Regions from separate parts of the Homo sapiens genome. Here all the other regions are linked to region 4. Evidence: promoter capture Hi-C in 16 types of primary human blood cells and fetal thymus (Javierre and others, 2016). All regions are on one chromosome and are shown on one strand. The core of a region is centred on a gene start or on the middle of the fragment in contact, and the rest is flanking DNA. Distances in the headings are between cores, read along the strand shown. Region 1 holds the start of CYP1A1 (cytochrome P450 family 1 subfamily A member 1). Region 2 holds the start of CPLX3 (complexin 3). Region 3 holds the start of CYP1A2 (cytochrome P450 family 1 subfamily A member 2). Region 4 holds the start of CYP11A1 (cytochrome P450 family 11 subfamily A member 1).

Region 1 (5,081 bases), core at 1,414-3,913, 360 kb before region 4:
AAGCAAGGTGGTGATGGAATGAGATTTTGCATTTTTGACAGGACCACTCTGGGTGCCACAGGATGGAGAAGTAATTGGACGGAGCAAAAGGCAAATGGGAACCTAGGTGGAGGCTAAGTGCTCCAGGGAGCAATGATGGGCCCTGGATGAGTTGTGGCAGTGGAGCTGGACAGATGCCAAAGCAGATGCCAAGCAGAGAAATGTGCCTCCTATTCTTAGCACAGTAGCCCGAGTGACCTTGCTTCTCTTACACCCCAGCCATGTCTCTATCTCGCACAGAGGAAGTCTCATGTCTCTCAATGGGGTGCTCCCTGCACATGCGGCAGGGCGCTGTGCCTCATGGGCATCCCATCCCCCTGGACTACATGCCAGGAGAACTCCCCAGTCACATGACCTCTGCACATCCCTGGTACTGCTCGGTCCTTCAAGAACCACTGTGGTGGGGGGTGGCGGGAGGCTTTGATTTTGCTTATTCCCTCTGCCAGTTGCAGTCTTTTATTTGAGATGGAGTCTCGCTCTGTCACCCAGGCTGGAGTGCAGTGGCGTGATCTCAGCTCACTGCAACATCTGCCTCCCAGGTTCAAGCAATTCTCCTGCCTGACTCCACTCCCCCCAAACCCCCCTCACCGCCCCAGTATCTGGGATTACAGGTGAGCAACACCATGCCCGGCTAATTTTTGTATTTTTGATAGAGATGGGGTTTTGCCATATTGGCCAGGCTGGTCTTGAACTCCTGACCTCAGGCGATCCTCCCGACTCGGCCTTCCAAAGTCCTGGGATTACAGGCGTGAGCCACCGCACCTGCCCAGGTACACTTTTTATCCAGATATCTATGCACATTGATTCTTGACTCCACACTCCTGCCTCTCTCCGCAAGGCCTTCCCTGACCCCCTTGTTTTGAATTGCAATCTGCCCTCACATAATCCGTACGCCTTTTCTGTTTAATTTTTTTCAACCGCACTTTTTACCCTCTCACATTCTCTAGATTTGGGGCATATTACTTGTCTCCTTCCATCAGAATGTAAACTCCACGAGATTAGGAGTGCTGTCAGCTGTGTTCCCTTCTCTGTCAATCGCCAGCGCCTCCGAACAGCTCCTGGCACATAGTAGTTGCTTGGTAAATATTTGTGCAATGCACGAGGCCGCATATGACCGGAATGGGAGGTGAGGGGATTATTTTCTGGCCTGGACCAGCGACGGATGGTGGTGCCACCGGGTTGGGGAGCACGTCGGGGATGGCGCGTAACGATGTTAGCTGGGGCCAGGTTGAGCTAGGCACGCAAATACAACTTTTTTTTTCCTGGAAACCCTGTAACAGGAAGGTTCCGGAGGGCGGGACAGCGTCGGAGGCAGGCAGCTAGGCCATGCCAAATGGCACTGGGGCTTCGTGTCGTGCCACAGGCGTGGACCGAAAATGCGGACACATGCAGGCTGCCTCTCCTCGCAGGCAGAAGCCACACGCAGACCTAGACCCTTTGCACCGCATCCCCTTATTCAATCGCGCACCCGCCACCCTTCGACAGTTCCTCTCCCTCCACCCCAACCCCACGCCGCGCGCGAGGCTGGCCCTTTAAGAGCCCCGCCCCGACTCCCTCCCCCCTCGCGTGACTGCGAGCCCCCGCGCCGGGCCGGGGAATGGGTCGGCTGGGTGGCTGCGCGGGCCTCCGGTCCTTCTCACGCAACGCCTGGGCACCGCGCCTCCGGGCCAGGTGGGGCGGGGACGGGCCGCCTGACCTCTGCCCCCTAGAGGGATGTCGCCGGCGCACGCAAGCTAGCCGGGGGTAGGGTGGGGGCTCCGCGCCAGGTGCCCCCTCCGTGGTCCCTGGGCCCGAGTCTTTCCGTGGCCCCCCGCCGCCGGATTTCTGTGCTCTGCCAATCAAAGCACTAGCCACCCCGGGAGCCAAGAGGGACCCTCAAGGGCCGGTGGGTCCTGGCTGGAGGGACCGCGCGTTGCAATCAGCACTAAGGCGATCCTAGAGGCTGCGAGGAGCCGCTAGTGAGCGCTCAGCGAGCCTGCCCCTTCGCCATCCATTCCGATCCTTCAATCAAGAGGCGCGAACCTCAGCTAGTCGCCCGGGCTCTGGGGGACAGGTCCAGCCCCGCGGCGCCTCTGGCCTTCCGGCCCCCGTGACCTCAGGGCTGGGGTCGCAGCGCTTCTCACGCGAGCCGGGACTCAGTAACCCCGGGAAGGAGGTCACCACGGGGCAGCCCCGCCCCCGCCTGCCGAGTCCTGGTAGGCTGTAGCGCTGGGGAGGCATCTGCACGCCCAGCGTTCCAGTGGGTGCAAAAATGACGAAGAGGAGTCCCCGCGCCCCAGGATGGAGCTTCCCGTACCCTCTCTTCGGGCTGTCCTGGGACTTCTCCCTCAAGCCCCCTCCTCGGCTGGGTTCTGCACTGCCCTTGGGACGCCTTGGAATTGGGACTTCCAGGTGTTCCCAGCCCTCACCCCTCTATGTACAGGCACCGAGATGTGTCCCATAGTGGGTTCTTGCCCACCCGACCCCCCACCCCCGCCGCCCTCCGCCACCTTTCTCTCCAATCCCAGAGAGACCAGCCCGGTTCAGGCTGCTTCTCCCTCCATCTCAGCTCGCTCCAGGGAAGGAGGCGTGGCCACACGTACAAGCCCGCCTATAAAGGTGGCAGTGCCTTCACCCTCACCCTGAAGGTGACAGTTCCTTGGAACCTTCCCTGATCCTTGTGATCCCAGGCTCCAAGAGTCCACCCTTCCCAGCTCAGCTCAGTACCTCAGGTGAGTTGCTGGGGGACTTCTGGCTTGCCCTTTCTCTCCCAATAAAAGGAACATTTTGGTGCCTCCAGGACTTCTTAGGTAGCTACCTGTCTAGCACCTCCAAAAAGGGAGGCTCAGAGTGTTTTTAGTGACCAGGCAGTCTAGCCCCCTAGTGGGGAAACTGAGGCCAGGGGAAGAGGAGGACTTGCCCATGGTCCCACAGCTGGTACCAGACCTCTAGATACAGATGGCATCTCATTCAGGACTTCAGGACCCAGGCTCCAGCTCCATCCCCTAGTGAGTGTCTCCCTGCCTACCCTGGGGCTTCCCCATCAAGGCCACCTGGCAGGCTGGAATATGTGCAGCCCCTCCCTCAGGCTTTCTGATGACAGGGGCTTCTCCTTGGGTGGACAGGGTGGATGGAGGGGGTGGGCTGGGTTCTTACCAGCTGTACCCTGCCCTAGCCTAAGAAGCTACCCCTGGCAGATTTTACCCTCCTAAGGGTGGCTTGTCAGTGCTGAGATGTCCTAGACAGCTGGGACAATAGAGGCAGATCTGTGCAGGAGTCCCAGGCCTTTCCTATCTCATTGACCATCTTCTTTGTCCTTTGCTGGGAGACAATCAGGGTGACAGATTGCCAACTGCAGGGAGCTGGAAATACCAGTCCCTAAAAACTCACCAGTCACATCTCCCTTGGCCTCCTACCATCTTACAAAGGCTGCAGGTCCTTGGGATACCCACTGTGCAGAAGGGGACACCATAGCACACCAAAGCCTGGCACTGTCCCCTGTTGACTCAGGGATCTAGTGTGCTTTGATATTTAGCCCCTCCAGGAAGCCTCCCTCCACTATAATACTTGTGGTAGGAACCATCCATCTCCCTGTCTTGTGAGGTTCTCCTGTGGGGAGCCTAACTGGTAAGACTGTCAGGTTCCCCACAGCAGATCTGGGTTTTCTCTTCCCTCTGGATCCAGCTGGGTACTCTGAACTGAGAGATCTTGTCTTACCCTCTCTCAGATGTTGAAATTGGACCCCAGAAAAGTAAAATGTGCAGTCCAAGATCACTTTGACTAGAATGTTGGGTCTACTGACCTCTAGTCCAGGGTAACAGGCAGAGATGCCTGATATGTTGGAGAGAGTGGTTTATGAATTTAAACACCCTTTTTAGGTCAAGCTTACAGAGAAAGTATTGCCTCAGTTTCCTTTCAGTTTAGATCCATTCCTGATTTCCCTGATTCCAGTCTGGGGTTTTCTTACAGCCTAGTGGGAACCTTCCATTTATTCTCTGCTCTCTGGTAACCTGCAAAAGGGGGAGGTCCAAACTGTTCATTCATTGAGAATTGAGCCAAAAAAAAACCCTGGCCTGGATTTCTCTGACTAAAGAGCTCAATCTAGCTGGTCTCCAGCTGCCTTTAAACTGTGGATCAGTTGAACTCAGAGAGCTGGGGCTGAAAGCAATGTGGTTTGGGAAGTGGCCATCCTGTCCCCTATCTCTTCCTCAGTCTGTCCTGGGGTCTGGTGGGATTTCCTGCATCCTGGGATTGAGCAGCAGAGAACTGAGGGTTCTGGGAAAATTCCTTCATTGATCTGACCACTCTTCAAAAGGAGGTACATGTGACAGCAGCTGGAAATTTCCAGGGAAGTGTCCCTAAGGAGTCTGAGTCCTGGCTCTGTCACTGATTGCTGGGGGACTTTGGACAAGTCAGCGCTGCTTCCCCCAAATGTTAAATGAGGCTAAAGGATCAGATGATCCCTAATTCCCCTGAGAACATGATTTTCCTAAGTGTGGTGGGTAGGACTCGGGGTGATACACCTTGATTATGTGTTTATTTTAATGTGTTAGGGGAAAAATCAAACTTGTACTTTCACATAGATATTGTTTATGATGATATGTAGGTAGATTTAAAGTTGATTTTAGGAAAATGTGAAGTAAATAACAGTACTGGTACTATGTGGAAATCACAGATTGACATTGGAAGATGTCAGTTTAGATTGGTACAGCAGTTAAGAGAAAGCGTTCTGGAATTAGGCAACTTGGCTTGGGAGTCTGCATCCAACACTTTCTGGCTGTGTGACCTTGGGCAAGTTACTTACCTTCTCTGAGCCTCATTGCAGGCTACTTCATAGATTTGTGGCCAGGGCTGAATGAAGAAGGACTGTGAAATTCTTAGCCCACAGTGGTAGTTCAACAACTTCTCCCCACCTCACCCTCTTCTTCATGCCCAGTAAGCAGTTCTGGTGGAAAGGTTTCCCCTTTCCCTGACACTCTAGATATTGGCTTTTCTCATCCCCCAATCTGACGGCTTGACTTTTTTTCTTCCTGCACCTTCTCTCAGCAGCCACCTCCAAGATC
Region 2 (4,896 bases), core at 2,397-4,896, 460 kb before region 4:
AAGCCAGGAAGGCTGGCCAGCTGCCCAAGGACTGAGGCCTTCTCCTCCTCCTCCTCTGTGTCCTCCTCGATCATCTTGGCCAGCTCCCGGGGCAGCTCCACGTCTCCACCTGCCATCTGGATCTGGCTCTCATCTGTCTCGTTCTGAAGGGAAGAGGGGAAGAGGGGGTGGGGTGGAGTGGAAGTCTGTGAGGACCCAGAGTTGAGAGGACAGGGAGGAGGCTTGGACTGGGTTCCAGGCCCCTAGATTCTATTTTTTCTTTTTTTTTTTTTTTGTAGAGACGAGGTCTCCCTATGTTGCCCACGCTGGTCTCAAACTCCTGGGCTCAAGTGATATGCCCACCTTGGCCTCCCAAAGTGCCGGGGGAATACAGGAATGAGCCACTGTGCCCGGCCCCTTAGATTCTTGAGCCCCATGTTCCAGTGAGCTCAGCTCCCACCCCCACATCCCAGGATCAAGCGTTTGATGCCTGGACATGGAGACCTTTTTATATTACCTTATTTCACTCTGAGATGCTGAAGGACCAGCACAGTGAGTAAAGACAAAATGAAAATACCTATGAGTCACACTGTTACAGTCAGCTAAGTCATGTTTTGACTCTTGTTATGCTTAAGGGTGTAACCAAAAATAGTGATGGGTACCATTTATCAAACATCTATTATATCTATTACATGGCAGACGTTGAGCTGGGTGCTTTTAATTCTCACAATAACCCTGTGAGGTAGGTAGGTATTGTTATTTCCACTTCACAAATAAGGAAATTGAGGCTTACAGGATTTAAGTAACTTACTTTAAATTTAAGTTACTTAACTAACTTAAGTAACTTAAGTAACTTAAATTATCCAAGATCACACAGGCAGGATGTTGGGGAGCTAGATTCAAACCTATGTCACTGATTCCAACATCTGTGTTTTTTTGCATGGCACCTACGATGACCATTGCCCTTCACTATTCTTCTGGGGGGCGCCTTATGTCCTACTCAGTTGCATCCAAGTCTTGGCTCTTCTGCTCAACTCTGACTTTGCTGATGGCAGGTGTCTCTTATATGCCTAGCGCAAGCATCTGAGGAATGATTTTATTCCTAGAAGAGTTTGCAGTGAGGCAGGCTTTCTGGACCGGTTTTTCCCCGTGACAGATTTCCAAAAGATTGGTGCCCTGTGGGGAGTCAGAAGCAGCTGGGGACTCAGTAAATATTTGTTGAATGAGTGAATGTGATGTTCATATATTTGGTCATTCAATTCAAGTGGAAGATCAAAATCAGGAGCGCTATAGCCCTGTGCTGTTTTCCCCTGAGTCCAGCACAGTTCTGGATGCACTAGGGTGATATTCTGGGAGAGATTTGTGCTTCATTCCCCTCCTTAGACAACAGGAGCAGCACACTTACACGCCCATCTGGTGGTGCACTGCCCAGGGGAGCGTGGGGGCAGGGATCTCCTGAGATATACTCTCTGGCTGCTTGGCCGGCCAAGGGGGTACTTGGCTCTCTACGGGCAGACTCCATACTCTGGAAAGCAGCCTGGGGCCCTGGAGCAAAGGCAGGCTCATATTCACCGGCTTGAGGGCTGGTCCCAGCTCCATGGCTCACTGGCTGTATGATCTTAGCCAAGTCCCTCCATTTCTCTTAGCCTCAGTTTCATCTTTTGTCGCTGTGGGTGATAGCTGCCTGGCAGCATTATTGGGGGTTAGATGAGGACATGAAGGTCAAGTACTTGGCACACACAGGGCTTCTCTCCCCCACCTTAAGTAAGTTCTGCCCTTCAGTAGGTTCAGAAACCCCCAGAACACTCACCTCTGCAGTCAAATCTACTGATTTCTGCCTCCCCTGTGTCTTCCTCTGCCCAGGCCTGGCCCAGGCTTGGTGGGGATATGGGGGGTGGAGGAGAGAAGAGGCCTAGATTGGCTCCAGAAATACAGACCTGTCAGTCTCATGAGGACTGGGGTCCCCTCAGCACAAAGCCCTGGCCCTTGGTGGGCACAGATTTAACTACGAGTGAGTGAATGAATAAAAGAACAAATGAATGAGAAGGAAGGATCTAACCAAATACCCTGTGAGTCTCATAGCTGAGGGCTGTGGTGCCCAGAATGGGGCGAAGGAGTCCAGAACCCAGAGCTCAGGGTCCCAGATGTGCCTCACAGCCGGGGCCAGCTTACCTTGGGTAGCCGGTATTTGTCTCGGAAGTGGCTCCGCAGTGTGGCCCGCTCTGCCTTCCTCTGTGTGAACTGTGCATCCCGCTCCATCCTGCAGGGTCACCGGAGGCAGAGTCACCACGAGGGCTGAGAGAAGGGGGTTGAGGTCTTCGAGGGAGGGACAGAAGGGGTCTCTGAGTCCTAGCAGCTGCTGCATTGGTCCCTGTGTGTAGCAAAAGCGCTCCAACCCGGACATCCAGGTTTCTGCTGCCTCTGCCCATCACAGTGCCCTTTGTCGTCTCTGCCACTGGATGGAACTAGGGAACCAGGGTGGCAGTCTGTCTGGCTCTCTCTGCAGATCCTAATTATTTGTCCCTCATGGCCTCCAACTTGGTCTGCTGTTCCCTCACTGACAAGCTATGTCATGTGGGGAAAAGTATTCAGGCCAAACTTGGGTTCACATCCCAGCTCCACTACCATTTTAGGTATATCCTTAGGTAAGTCACTTACCTTCCTCTTCTGTAAAATGGGGATAAAATTTTGCAACTCACAAAACTGTTATCAGGATTGAGCGAAATAATAGCTATCATTTATGAGACTTTATCATGTGCCAGGTGCTGTGCTAAACAGTTTACATGCATTGGCATTTAATCTTCATAAATATACAAGGCATGTATTATGATTACCATCCCCACTTTCCAGAAAAGGAAACAGAGGCACAGAAAGGTTAAGTAACTTGCCTAAAGTTATCCAGCTAATAGGCAAAGCCAGGCTCTGAACCCAAGTAGCCTAGCAGCAGAGTCCAGCCCCAAACTCTGTCCCAGCACTGCGGGCACACAAGTGCTCAATGTTTGTGAGTGCCCCCATCTCAGGGTCTGTCTCCGCGACTCTGAGCGGCTGCACCACTTTTTTCAGAGCCTCAAGTTCAGAGGAGCCCCAGTTGGAAGACATAGGCGGCTGGGACCAGATCGGATTAAGGGATTATCGTTTCGTCAGAAACGCACGTGCACCCCCTTCCTCGTCCCAGGCTCCGGTCGGTCCCTCGTCCGGTCGCCCCTCCCCCCACTCCCCCTTGGCCGGAGCATGATGCTGGAGCGGGGTTTTGGGTGTCAGATAGGATGGGTCTGGGGGCAGTGTAGAGGACACCTCCCGGTCTCTTACCGTGTCTAGGAAAGTAGGGGAGAAGGGATTGGGACCTGAGGCTGGCCCGGGGATGGACTGAGCAGCTGTGGGGGTGGGGAGGGGAGGTCGTTGGAGCCAGGAAGGGATCCCACTCACTTCTCTTCCACGAGTTGCTTCTGATACTCCTCGTACTCCTCCCGGCTCATGCCCTGAGCTTCGGCTGCCGACTTGTCCCCATCTCCCTTATCCTCGCCGCCTCCCAGGCTCCCAGTGAGGTTCTTCAGCTGGCCGCCCACCATGGTCTTCACCATGAACGCCATGGTCTTCGCCGGCCGGGGCACCGGGCGCCTGCTACCACGCGCCAGGCACCGGGCACGTCCGCGCCTACTTCAGCACTAGGTTTCGCGGACAGCTCCCGCCGCGGGCCCGCGCCCCACGCTTGGCACCGCCCGCCGCCCGCCCCCGCCCGGGCCCGCCCCCACCTCCCCAAACCCCTCCTCACTGGGGGCGGGGGGCAGCACGGGGCTGAGAAGGCTGGACCACGTGCCCGCTCCCCACTCCCGCCTCCCCCACGTGCCTCCTTCAACGCCGAGCTCCGCTGGGCACTGCTGACAGAGGATTAGGGCCTGCGGTGGTGGGGTCGCTCTCCCGGGAGAGGGGTTGAGCTCATACACTCCCGGAACCCTGTTCCATAGCCTCTTCCAACTTTCTCCTCTCCTGGGCCACTAATAACTAGGATTTCAGCTGGGAGATCCAGGTAGCAGCAAGGGGTAAAAACCCAGCCTTGGGTGCCCCCCATTCTCCCCACCCACCCAAGTCACTGAACCCAGCAGCTGCCCAGAGAGCTTGACGCTGGAAAAGGGAGGGAGACCTGAGGGCGCGAGCGGGAATCCCAGTTATGGTTCCACGAGTTGGCCTCTCAGGGTTGCTCTGTCACGCGCCTCCCCTGCTGCCCCTGGAGCAGCTAGGAGTGGGGAGGGAGAGAGCTGCTCAGTGATGCTGGCTGAGCTGGGCCAGGAGGGACACTGGGAGACACTGCTCTCTGTTATGGGTGAGTTTGAGGACAGAATTATATACAGTCATGGCTCTCTTTCCCTCCATAGTCGAGGGTTCAAAGCCCGTGGGGTATCCGGTCTTTTGGAGGTTAAGCCAGGCCTTGGCCTCCTTGCCTGCTTGGAGCGCACTCCCAGCCAGGTACTCAGAAGGGGTGGAAGCCTTCACAGAGATTAGGGTGAGGCTGGAAAGAAGACCAGCATATCACAGCATGGGGAGAGGGAAATCACCTTTAACGAGGTGGGAGCATGCCGAAAGCTCAGGTGTGCGTGGGAGCTGGGCACCCAGACGGAGAGGATACTGACCAAGCCCCCACCCAAGACACTGCCTGCTTCCCAGTGATGCAAAGCAGGCTCTGAGGTGGGTCAGGCAGGCATGCTGGCAGGGAGAGGCTGCCTCCTCAGAATCCCCAGGGCCCTGGGGGTGTGTGGTGCAGGACCCAGAGGAAGGCTGCCTGTGGACAGACACTCCTGAAGGCTCTTGTTCAGCTCCTGCCTGCTGCCAGAGAGAAGGTTACAGGTTACTTGCGTCTCTCCTTTATGGGCTTTTGAAAAACCAGGACTCTCATGCTTGCCTTGCTACACTCACTGCACC
Region 3 (5,494 bases), core at 2,417-4,916, 380 kb before region 4:
GAGGCCGACCTGACTGGCACAGAGGGCACTGGGAGGGAGGGAATATGAACAGAGGGGAATGAGCGCTGAGATCACAAGTGGAACTTTCTCCTGAGAGCTGGGGGTTAGATTATGTTTGGACTGGATGGGGGCAGACTGAGGCCGGGATCTGTGGGGAACGAGGTCGGGAAGGAGATGCTGAGCCAGGGCCAGGGCTGAGAAGCCAGGAAGAGAAAACATGGCAAGCACTTTAGAGGTGGGAGGGCAGAACCGGCAGGCCTCACCTGTGGGGGATGGTGAAGGGCAAGAAGGAGGAGTGTCGGAAGGTCTCCAGGATGAAGGCCTCCAAGTAGGGCAGCTGGGGTCTGTCAGAGAGCCGGGGCCGCCGCTCCCTGCCAATCACAGTGTCTGTAGAACACAGAGGACAAGCAGAGCTCAGGGGCTGCCCTAACTGCCCCATGAATTATCCCCTCTTATACCCCATGTCACTCTTATGTAAGACTGTCTATTCACAAGTCTGCGACCCCACTAACCTCCCACATCTTCTAGGCAAGGGCAGGCACTACTGTGTGCCCAGGGCTTGCACACAGCAGGCACATAACAGGTGTTTGTAGACTGAACAAACAACCTGGGTCTCAAGGCTTCTCCTGGCTATAGGGTTGGGGGCCCCCATGTACCCAGCTCCTTCTGGATCTTCCTCTGTATCTCAGGCTTGGTCACAAGGTACATGAGGCTCCAGGAGATGGCTGTGGTGACTGTGTCAAATCCTGAACCGTGTAGTGTAAGGTGAGGAAAGAAGGAAGACAGAAACAAGGAAACCATCATTTCCCAAGTATCTGCTATGTATGTATCCAGCATTAGCTTTCTCTGGCCCTAGCCTGTGAGTTTCCTGAAGACAGAGGCTGGGTCTCTTCAACATAAACTTGAGATACAGGTTTCAGAATTAGCTGCTGGAATTATAGGGGCCTAGACTTACAGGCCAGAGAACACCTTATTGTTCAGATGGGGAAACTGAAGCCTAGGGGAGGAGAAGGACTTTGCTGTTTCTCCACTGGGAATTGGTGGCATAGCCCAGGCTCAAACCCTGATCCCAAGCCAGATCTCAGTATGTTGTACCATCTGGTGTAGGGTTGGTGGGTTATTTCATGGACTGAGGGGCTGGGCAAGGCTGTGGGTGAACAGCAGGCATTGTTGGATGGAGGGGCAAGGTTCTGGTTCCTACCTGCTCCAAAGATGTCATTGACAAGGTTGACAATCTTCTCCTGTGGGATGAGGTTGCCGCTGGCTCTAGGCCCCTTCTTGCTGTGCTTGAACAGGGCACCCGTGATGTCCCGGACACTGTTCTGAGGGGGCACAAGCTTAGGGGCACCTCTGGCACTTCCAAGGTCAAAGGCTGAACGTTGCTCCACTCCCCTGGCCTGTACCTGGTGGCTGGGTACCCCCCTATCCTCCCAACTTGGTCTCTAGGCAGGGGGTTGCAGCTTGCAGCAGGAGCTGGTAGCAGCCCTGGGTATGGCTTAAAGTGTCATTTTATGCCCCATTGACCCTTCCTCCCAATAACACCAGGGGTCCAATTTCAAAGAAGGAAAAGGTTAGTGTGAACACAGGGAAGCAACGTGACACCAGAGCTGGGGATTAGCCTCTGTTGGGGTTTAGGTTTCTGCAGAATGAAAGCTTTCTCACTCATAGGCCCCCCACATTGCAGGACTCTGCTAGGGCCCCATTTCCAGGGCTTTTTTCTTGGGGGCTTTGAGGAGCCCTGAGAAGGGGGCTTCAAGGATGAGGAAACTGAGGCCCAGAGAAGGGGAAGAGTCGGCTCCAGGTCACACAGCTGGTCTGAGGTGTCCAGAGCCTTCCTAGGCCTTGGCAACACAGCAGCTGTGTGGGCATGCTGGAGCTGGGAGGGAGGGGCTGCACCCAGGCCCTGCAAGGTGCCCCTTGCCACCTGCACCCCGGGCTCACCTTGTCAAAGTCCTGATAGTGCTCCTGGACTGTTTTCTGCAGGAACCACAGGAACCTCTGGTTGAAGGCCTTGAACCTCTGCAGGGCAGGGTTAGGCAGGTAGCGAAGGATGGGGAAGAAGTCCAGGGGGTTCCCGGAGGAGGCAGTCTCCACGAACTCATGAGTGTTCTTCACGAGGCTGAGCATCTCATCGCTACTCTCAGGGAAGTGCTGTCCGAAGCACATGGCACCAATGACGTTGGCCACTGACACCACCACCTGATTGTAAGGGTCGAAGTGCCCAGGCCCTGCCATCAGCTCCTGCAACCTGCTGATCAGGGCCTTAGCCTCCTTGCTCACATGCTCCTCCAGGTAGCAGGAGGATGAGGAAGCTGGGTCAGAGGCGATGGAGAAGGTGTTGAGGGCATTCTGGGCCAGGCGCCGGCGGGCAGCCCACACCGGTCCAGAGTCTGTGCTGAAGGTCAAGCTCTGGCCATCAGTGATGAGGGTGGAGGTGTAGAGGTCAGGCCGGCCCTTGAAATCGTCGCCCTGCCGCACCAGGGCCTGCCGGATGGTGTCCAGGCGGCTCAGCACCAGCACGGGCGTGGAGCCAATGCGGATCTGCAGGACGTCCCCGTAGCGCTGGCTCATCCTTGACAGTGCCAGGTGCGGGTTCTTCCCCAGGGTCAGCACATGCCCGAGCAAGGGCCAGCCCCATGGCTCTGGTGGACTTTTCAGGCCTTTGGGGACCCGAGGCCTCAAACCCTTGAGCACCCAGAATACCAGGCAGAAGATGGCAGAGGCCAGGAGAAGCTCTGTGGCCGAGAAGGGAACAGACTGGGACAATGCCATCTGTACCAACTGCAGGGAAAAAAGGAGGGACCAGGCTGAGGGTTGAGATGGAGACATTCATTCATTCATTTCCTCAGTCATTTGATAAACACTGATGCGTGTTCTGTGCTTGGCTCCCAGCTGGATACCAGAAAGACTAAGCTCCATCTACCATGCGTCCTGGGCCCACAGAGCTCACCCTTTGAGCATCACAGAATCTGAGAGCTGGAAAGGAGCCTCAAGATTCCCAACATGAACGCTGGCTCTCTCCTCCACACATCATCTCAGTTTCCACTTCTGGGGCTGGAGTAGAGGCAAGTGACCACTCCAAAATGGGGAAGCCAAGGACAGCACCCTTGTCAGCCCCTGGCACAGCATGCATGCTGGGTATTGTACCAAAGAGTCCCTGCCAGTGCTGGCTTTCTGCTGATACCTTCCATATACCCAAGGGACCAGGAGTTCCCCCTACCCAGTGACACTGAGGTGGCCAAGGTCCCAGGGCTGGTTCAAATAGCCTGTGATGCCCCCTCCCCAGGGCATTCTTTATCAATACCAGGAGGGGCACCTCCTCCAGGGATGAGTCCCCATCCTCTCACAGTCTTGGAGGTTGGGGTTGGGCTTCAGCCAGGGCCAGGGCTGCCCTTGTGCTAAGGGGGAAGCCCTCCCCATCGCTCTCCTTAAAAATGGCTTAGTCCAAACTGCTCATTTAAAATCGGGAAACAGAAGTCAAGAGCTGGGTAGCAAAGCCCGGAACTCAGGACCCCTACACCTAGCCCAGGCTCCCCGTCTTTCTGTCCCCACTAGCTTCCAGGTTCTATAGTTGGGGATCCCAGAGATTGTAAATTGGTCCCAAGAAAGGTACCTGTAGAGGCAGGTGCTTGAGATTGGCAGGGTTGTAATGGCTGGTGTGGAGCTTCTGGCTCTAGGTGAGTGGCCTTTTTATAAACACCGCCCCCTATCAGATTGGCCTGGTTGTCCTGATCACCTGATATGAAAGCTGGATCACTGAACAAAGTTGGAAGGATCAACTCTTGGCCTTGGGCCATTATCCCTCAGCTCCACCTACTACCTAAGACCCAGGGTGACTCTTTGGGGATAGGCCAGAAGGGGTGCTGGGTCCCTGGGGATGAAGGTACAGCTGTCTTTAGGGTTCAGGGTAGGGAGCCTATTTCTCTGAAGAGTAGGGTAGGGTCTGGGAGTGGGGGTTAGGCCTTTGGACTGATCTGGGCTTCTTTCCCACTGCACACATGAGGAAGAGCTCTGCCAGGGCACTCAGTCTAGGCCAACCAGGCTCACGGCCCCTCTCCAGAGGGATGTTCTTCTGTAGTACCCTCCAACAACCTGCAAAACCAAACAGTAAATGGGCGTGTTCCAGCCACTCCTGATTTTCAGCCCAAGTCCCCAAGTGGAAAAGAAGAGATGATAAAGATTTTGCATCCTAAAGAGAGGCCCCCCTTATGCAAAAAGACTAAGAGACATAACCAAATGCAATATGGATTTGCATTTGATTGCCATATCGATTGGATATGGCATTTAAACAAAATTTTAAAAAAATCTATAAAAGATGTTTTGGGGACAATTGGGGACATGTAAGCACGGACTGGAGATTAGATGATATTCTGGAATAAATGTAAATTTTTTTAGGTGTGAACAGAGTGTCATGGTATGTGGGAGTGTATCCTTATTCTTAGGAGATTAATGCTGTAGCATGGAAGTGTCATGATCCCCACAACCTCCTTTTGAATGGTTCTGTTAAAAAATGTACACCTCTAGGCCAGGCGCGATGGCTCGCACCTGTAATCCCAGCACTTTGAGAGGCCGAGATGGGCGGATCACCTGAGATCAGGTGTTCAAGACCAGCCTGGCCAACCTGGTGAAACTCCGTCTCTACTAAAAATACAAAAATTAGCCAGGCATGGTGGCATGTGCCTGTGATCCCAGCTACTCGGGAGGCTGAGGCAGGAGAATGGCTTGAACTTGGGAGGTGGAGGCTGCAGTGAGCCAAGATCGTGCCACTCCACTCCAGCCTGGGCGACAGAGTGAGACTCCGTCTCAAAAAAAAAAAAAATGTACACCTTTAAAGAGTGTAATTGGATTGTTTGTAACTCAAAGGTTTATCCTTGCTTGAGGGGATGGATACTCCATTCTCCATGAATGCTTATTTCATATTGCATGCCTGTATCAAAACATTTCATGTACCCCATACATATATACACCTACTATGTACCCATAAAATTAAAACAATGTATACCTATCTATCAATAAATCGAGAGAAAGTAGATATGAGAAATGTCAGATATTCATGGACTTACGTGAGGATATATGGTGTTTGTTGTACTAAAGGAGTCTTTAATATGGACCCAGATCTCAGTCAGATCTAAGAGGAGGAGGAGGACAAGCCTTAAATTGGATGTGAAAAGGAAGTTTGCTATCTTTTTTTTTTTTTTTTAGATACAGAGTCTTGCTCTGTCACCCAGGTTGGGGTTCATGTGCCACAATCATGGCTCACTGCAGCCTCGACCTCCTGAGCTCAAACAATCCTCTTGCCTCAGCCTCCTGAGTAGCTGGGACCACAATCACAGGTGTGTGCACCATGCCTGGCTAATTTTTTTATTTTTAAACATTTTTTTGTAGAGAGGAGGTCTTGCCATGTTGCCCAGGTTGGTCTTGAACTTCTGGGCCCAAGCAATCCTTCTGCCTTGGCCTCCCAAACTGCTGGGATTACAGGTGTGAGCCACTGTGC
Region 4 (4,755 bases), core at 404-2,903:
TCATTCCAGGCTCAAGGTCATCAGTGAGGCAAAACAGGCTTTCTCCATACTCTCTTTATCAGAAGGTTCATGACTGATGAGGTAGTGGTCACTCCAGCGGGAAGAGCAACAACCACTCTTGATAAGTACTTTTTTTTTTTCTTCTAAAAACTGTTGCTCTAAATTTGTTGAAAGTGGTTCAACAGTATTGGAGTCTGGGGTCAAGTGGCTGTGTAAGGACAACTTTTGCCATTGTGGGTGATCTATGGGCTGACACATACAACAGAAGAGGCCAGGAGGATGTCACTCGTGTGTGTGTGTGTGTGTGTGTGTTTGGTAACAGCTCTATTGAGATATAATTCACACACCATACAATTCACCCATTTAAAGTATGCAATTCAATGGCTTTTAGTGTATCAGAGAGTTGTTCAATAATTACCACAATATACTTTAGAATATTTTCATTTTCATCATCCTAAGAATCCCTACACACTTTATGTCCCATCCTCTAATTCCTCTATCCCCCTAGCTCTAAGCAACCACCAGTCTATTTTCTGTCTCTTAGATGTGTGTTTTAAATGCCTTATTTGCCAGAAAATAAGATTTTGGGGAAAAAAAGCAAGAAGTTGTACCTTCCAATGATAAGTATAAGGTATAGTGTAGATTGCTGTCATGAAATGCTCTACATGGCACATGTATGTTTTCTGACCTACACATTTTTACCAAGTGGGCTGTAATTTTGTTGAAATGACTTGAAAACTCTACAGGTGACTGACCCTTGTTGTTTGGGAAAGTGGTAGGTGCAGGGTGATGGGGGGTGGGTGTGGGGGCTGACCTGGGCTGGAAGGATGGGTCTGGGGATATGATATGATGGGAGGGGGTATGGAAGCAGCTCTGAGGGGAAAGCAGCACAGATCAAGTGTGTGGACAGGGAAGAGCTGACATCCTGAGTTCCATGGCAACCAGATTTGCCAAGGTCTTAGAGTGTGTCCAGAGTGGAGCCTGACCACAGACCTCAGCTCAAGGGACCCAGAGCCCCTCTGAGTCAGCTGTACTGAATTACAGCCCCAAATCTGGGTCAACTGGGGAGAGACGACGAGGATTAGGGTTCCAAGGTGAAACTGTGCCATTGCGCTCCAGCCTGGGCAACAAGAATGAAACTCTCTTAAAATAAAATAAAATAAAATAAAATAAAATAAAATAAAATAGCCTAAGGATGCATTTCTCAGAACTTATCCCTGTTGTTCAATGATGTGTGTCTATACAGTGGGGCCATAACTAAGACGTATGTTGCCCAAGCTGGCAAGATAGCTCTGACCTTCTCTTGGGCCCCTCATTTCCCCCAAACACAGGTTGTCTGCAGTCTTGACCAATGGCTGCCAGGGCATGGACTCCGCTGCAGGGGCCAGTGGGAGGCCCCAGCTCAGGCAAAAGCACAGGCAGATATTTCAGGAGTCTGCTAGGGCTGGCACTGAGGGCAGAGACAGAGGGGTCTCCCTGTCCTTTGGAGAACCTCACGCTGCAGAAATTCCAGACTGAACCTTCATACCGAGTAGGGGAGGAGCTGTCTGCGGGTTTGAGCCTGCAGCAGGAGGAAGGACGTGAACATTTTATCAGCTTCTGGTATGGCCTTGAGCTGGTAGTTATAATCTTGGCCCTGGTGGCCCAGGGCTACAGTCATCCTAGCAGTCCCCGCTGAAGTGGAGCAGGTACAGTCACAGCTGTGGGGACAGCATGCTGGCCAAGGGTCTTCCCCCACGCTCAGTCCTGGTCAAAGGCTGCCAGACCTTTCTGAGTGCCCCCAGGGAGGGGCTGGGGCGTCTCAGGGTGCCCACTGGCGAGGGAGCTGGCATCTCCACCCGCAGTCCTCGCCCCTTCAATGAGATCCCCTCTCCTGGTGACAATGGCTGGCTAAACCTGTACCATTTCTGGAGGGAGACGGGCACACACAAAGTCCACCTTCACCATGTCCAGAATTTCCAGAAGTATGGCCCGATTTACAGGTAAGCCTGGCAGAGGGTGGGAGCCGAAGGGACAGGGAGGAGGAGGGGCCTGGGTAGCCCTGCTGTAGTCCCCACTCCCCCAACAGGCTGTTCTCTGGTTCCAAACTCCTGTCTAACTTCTTTTTTTTTTTTTTTTTTGGTAATACAATACAGAAATATATCAGGGATATTTCAAAATTCAACATTTGAATCTGTGAATGTCTTAAGTACTCTAAACCAGACATCTACTTTTGAAACAATTGGTGGCAAGACCGCCAGCCATCTGTAAGGAAGCTCTTTAATGGGTCCAAACCCCAGGTCTGGCCAGGCATGGTGGCTCACACCCATAATCCCAGCACTTTGGGAGGCCGAGGTGGGCGGATCACTTGAGATCAAGAGTTCGAGACCATCCTGGCCAACATGATGAAACCCCGTCTCTACTAAAAATACAAAAATTAGCTGGGTGTGGTGGCAGGCGCCTGTAATCCCAGCTACTCGGGAGGCTGAAGCAGGAGAATGGCTTGAACCGGAGAGGCAGAGGTTGCAGTGAGCCGAGATCGCACCATTGCAATCCAGCCTGGGCGACAGAGTGAGATTCTGTCTCAAACAAAACAAAACAACCTCCTCGGTCTGAGGAGGGGAGACTGGTGAGGCTAAGTTTTGAATTCCTGGCCCTGTAGCTGTCAGCCCAGCCAGCGAGTTTTAAAAATTGGGAGAAGGCCGGGTGCGGTGGCTCACGCTTGTAATCCCAGCACTTTGGGAGGCTGAGGCAGGCGGATCACTTGAGGACAGGAGTTCGAGATCAACCCGGCCAACATGGTGAAACCCTGTCTCTACTACAAAAATAAATAAATAAATAAATAAATAAATAAATAAAATAAAAAAAATTAGCCGGGCATGGTGGCGGGGGTCTATAATCCCAGCTACTCGGGAGGCTGAGGCAGGACACTCGCCCGAACCCAGGAGGTGGAGGTTGCAGTGAGCCGAGATCATGTCACTGCACTCCCGCCCTGGGCAACAAAAGCGAAACTCTGTCTCAAAAAAAAAAAAAAAAAAAAAATCGGGGGAGGGAGATTTGAAGGTCAGAGCACAGAGTGAAAAGGTCGCAGCGTGGTCAAGTTTGGCGCTAGCGACAGACCCAGCATTCCTCCCAGCGCACGCCGCCGCCCGGGCCGCGCTATTCCGAAATTGGGTCCGCCCTAGCGTGGCCCCCGGCCTGCTCCTGCGCTCTTCGCGGGTCGCTCACCTCCGCCTCCCCTCGACACAGCCCGAGCCCATCCGCCCCCCGGGTCGACCCGCGTTTACCTCAGGGCGAGGTCCAGGCGCTCGGCCCCGCGGAGGCGGCGGCGGCCCCACCGCAGGTCCTAGGTCCCAGTCACTCTGCCGCCAAGTTCCCCAACACGGACTCCGTGCGCTTTGAGGTGTTACGGGGGCGCTGGAGCACTGGCTTCGCTGGCCCTGCCAGGAGGCGGCGGCGAAGCAGGGAGCGACCCGGTATGCGTTTCTCTGCCCGGCCTGCGGCCCTGCAGCATCCACTCCTCGCCTCTGCTGGCCTCTGCCCTCGCTCGCTGCGTTCACCCGAGCTCACCCGAGCCCACCGGAGCCGACAGTGGCGCGCTAAGGTGACGTCCGCGCGGCCGGACCTCTCCTGTCCAACTTCTGATCTTCTTCCAGGCCTGGGATGGTGGTGGGTAAAAGGGAAAGTATTCCTAGTTCCCAGGCCTGAGGCCTCAACCTTCCCCAGATCCCACTCCCTTTGAAACTCTCGGAGAGAGGTGGTTAGAGAACAAGCCCTACTAAATGCCTCCCTACATCCGTTACCCTCCGCACACCTTGCAAGCGAAGTTTGTTGTCCCCATGGTCAGAGGAGGAGACTGAGGCTCAGAGAGGTCACCCAGCTAGATTCCTGTCCTGCTGGGGTGCTGGATCTCACCCCTTGGCCCTGAGGCTCTGAGTCTGTCCCTTCCCTTTCCCAAGAATCGGGCTTGCTTCCTGCTAGGAGGAAAGGCCTTTTTTTTTTTTTTTTGTCTTTGGGCCTCTGTGCCTCCAGGGCTTGTGGCTTTTTCCTGGGAAAACTGCTAAAGCTGTTCCCACGGTGGGCAGCCTTTCAGCCACACCTGGGTTCTTTGCTAAGAGTCCGGTTGAGAGGGAACGGAGGTGGCGCAGGGGTGGTTGGGGGCTGGGAGGGGAGACCAGGAGGGACAGTACGTTTTCCTTTAAGTGAAAGGTCTTTACAACTCAGAGCATTCCAATGGGTCAGTCACGAAGAGGGAAGGGTAAGATGTGTTGGCCGGCTTGATGACTGGGCTGGGGGTGGGTGAGAAGGCAGGCTAGTTTGTGTTGGGGCTTCAGCTGCTCCCTCCCTCTCTCACAACTCCTTTAAAGTCCAAACTGCCCCTTTTGATAGCTGGTTGGTGGCAGGGAGCTCCCCCCACCCCGCACCCCACCCTATTCAAGGTTGAGTGCTGGGCTTGGGAGGTTGCGCCCCGCTGGGTCTCTCCTTCCTCCCCCTCTCTCCTAGGCCTATTAGTGCTTCTGTCCCGTGCTCACTTCACATAGATCTCTAGTTATCCTTGCTTCCTCCTCTCTTCCCTTTTCACCACTTCCTAGACCCTCAGTAGCAACTCCTTATTTTATTAAGCCCCTTTGTTACCGGTGGAGGGTGTCCAGGTTCTTGGCGTCTTGAACAAAGAATTGGACAAAATGCACAGACAAAGTAAGGAAGGAATGAAGGGATTTATTGAAAATGAACATACACACCACAGTGTGGGAGCAGGCGGAGCGTAGGGGCTCA

The links. Contacts are between HindIII fragments. The CHiCAGO score rates a contact against its expected background, and 5 or more counts as called.
Region 1: a contact is called between the fragment with the promoter of CYP1A1 here and the fragment with the promoter of CYP11A1 in region 4, in 5 of 17 cell types (M2 macrophages, M0 macrophages, erythroblasts and 2 more). The highest score is 8.9, in M2 macrophages.
Region 2: a contact is called between the fragment with the promoter of CPLX3 here and the fragment with the promoter of CYP11A1 in region 4, in 1 of 17 cell types (M2 macrophages). The highest score is 6.0, in M2 macrophages.
Region 3: the fragment with the promoter of CYP1A2 here is called in contact with the fragment with the promoter of CYP11A1 in region 4 in 3 of 17 cell types (M0 macrophages, M1 macrophages and M2 macrophages); the score reaches 8.8 in M0 macrophages.

Annotation. Positions count from the first base shown.
Region 1 is chr15:74,723,110-74,728,190 of GRCh38, reverse strand. It overlaps CYP1A1 (cytochrome P450 family 1 subfamily A member 1), which reads left to right and starts at 2,663. Exons shown (of 7, transcript NM_001319217.2): 1 at 2,663-2,750; 2 at 5,065-5,081. RefSeq lists enhancers at 1,597-1,620, 1,669-1,683, 1,758-1,780, 919-2,118, 2,151-2,174, silencers at 1,667-1,826, 1,826-1,935, 2,007-2,086, 1,931-2,106, 1,826-2,106, a cis regulatory region at 826-2,200 and a promoter at 1,051-2,955. The HindIII fragment of the contact is 9,244 bases long and covers 1-3,904 here.
Region 2 is chr15:74,825,377-74,830,272 of GRCh38, reverse strand. It overlaps CPLX3 (complexin 3), which reads right to left and starts at 3,646. Exons shown (of 3, transcript NM_001030005.3): 1 at 3,406-3,646; 2 at 2,152-2,239; 3 at 1-143. The coding sequence starts at 3,569. LMAN1L (lectin, mannose binding 1 like) reads right to left here. Exons shown (of 14, transcript NM_021819.3): 14 at 4,519-4,797. The coding sequence ends at 4,668. LOC105370897 (a long non-coding RNA gene) reads right to left here and starts at 2,141. Exons shown (of 2, transcript XR_932478.1): 1 at 1,385-2,141; 2 at 572-1,155. RefSeq lists a silencer at 3,457-3,664. The HindIII fragment of the contact is 16,039 bases long and covers 1-4,896 here.
Region 3 is chr15:74,747,017-74,752,510 of GRCh38, reverse strand. It overlaps CYP1A2 (cytochrome P450 family 1 subfamily A member 2), which reads right to left and starts at 3,666. Exons shown (of 7, transcript NM_000761.5): 1 at 3,614-3,666; 2 at 1,942-2,781; 3 at 1,202-1,322; 4 at 657-746; 5 at 264-387. The coding sequence starts at 2,772. RefSeq lists promoters at 2,773-3,910, 3,576-5,494 and a cis regulatory region at 4,997-5,494. The HindIII fragment of the contact is 9,803 bases long and covers 1,656-5,494 here.
Region 4 is chr15:74,364,544-74,369,298 of GRCh38, reverse strand. It overlaps CYP11A1 (cytochrome P450 family 11 subfamily A member 1), which reads left to right and starts at 1,653. Exons shown (of 9, transcript NM_000781.3): 1 at 1,653-1,982. The coding sequence starts at 1,714. It overlaps LOC124903524 (a long non-coding RNA gene), which reads right to left and starts at 3,837. Exons shown (of 2, transcript XR_007064709.1): 1 at 3,794-3,837; 2 at 1-3,637. RefSeq lists enhancers at 1-75, 1,497-1,521, a promoter at 1-1,703 and a silencer at 3,111-3,270. The HindIII fragment of the contact is 5,873 bases long and covers 1-4,755 here.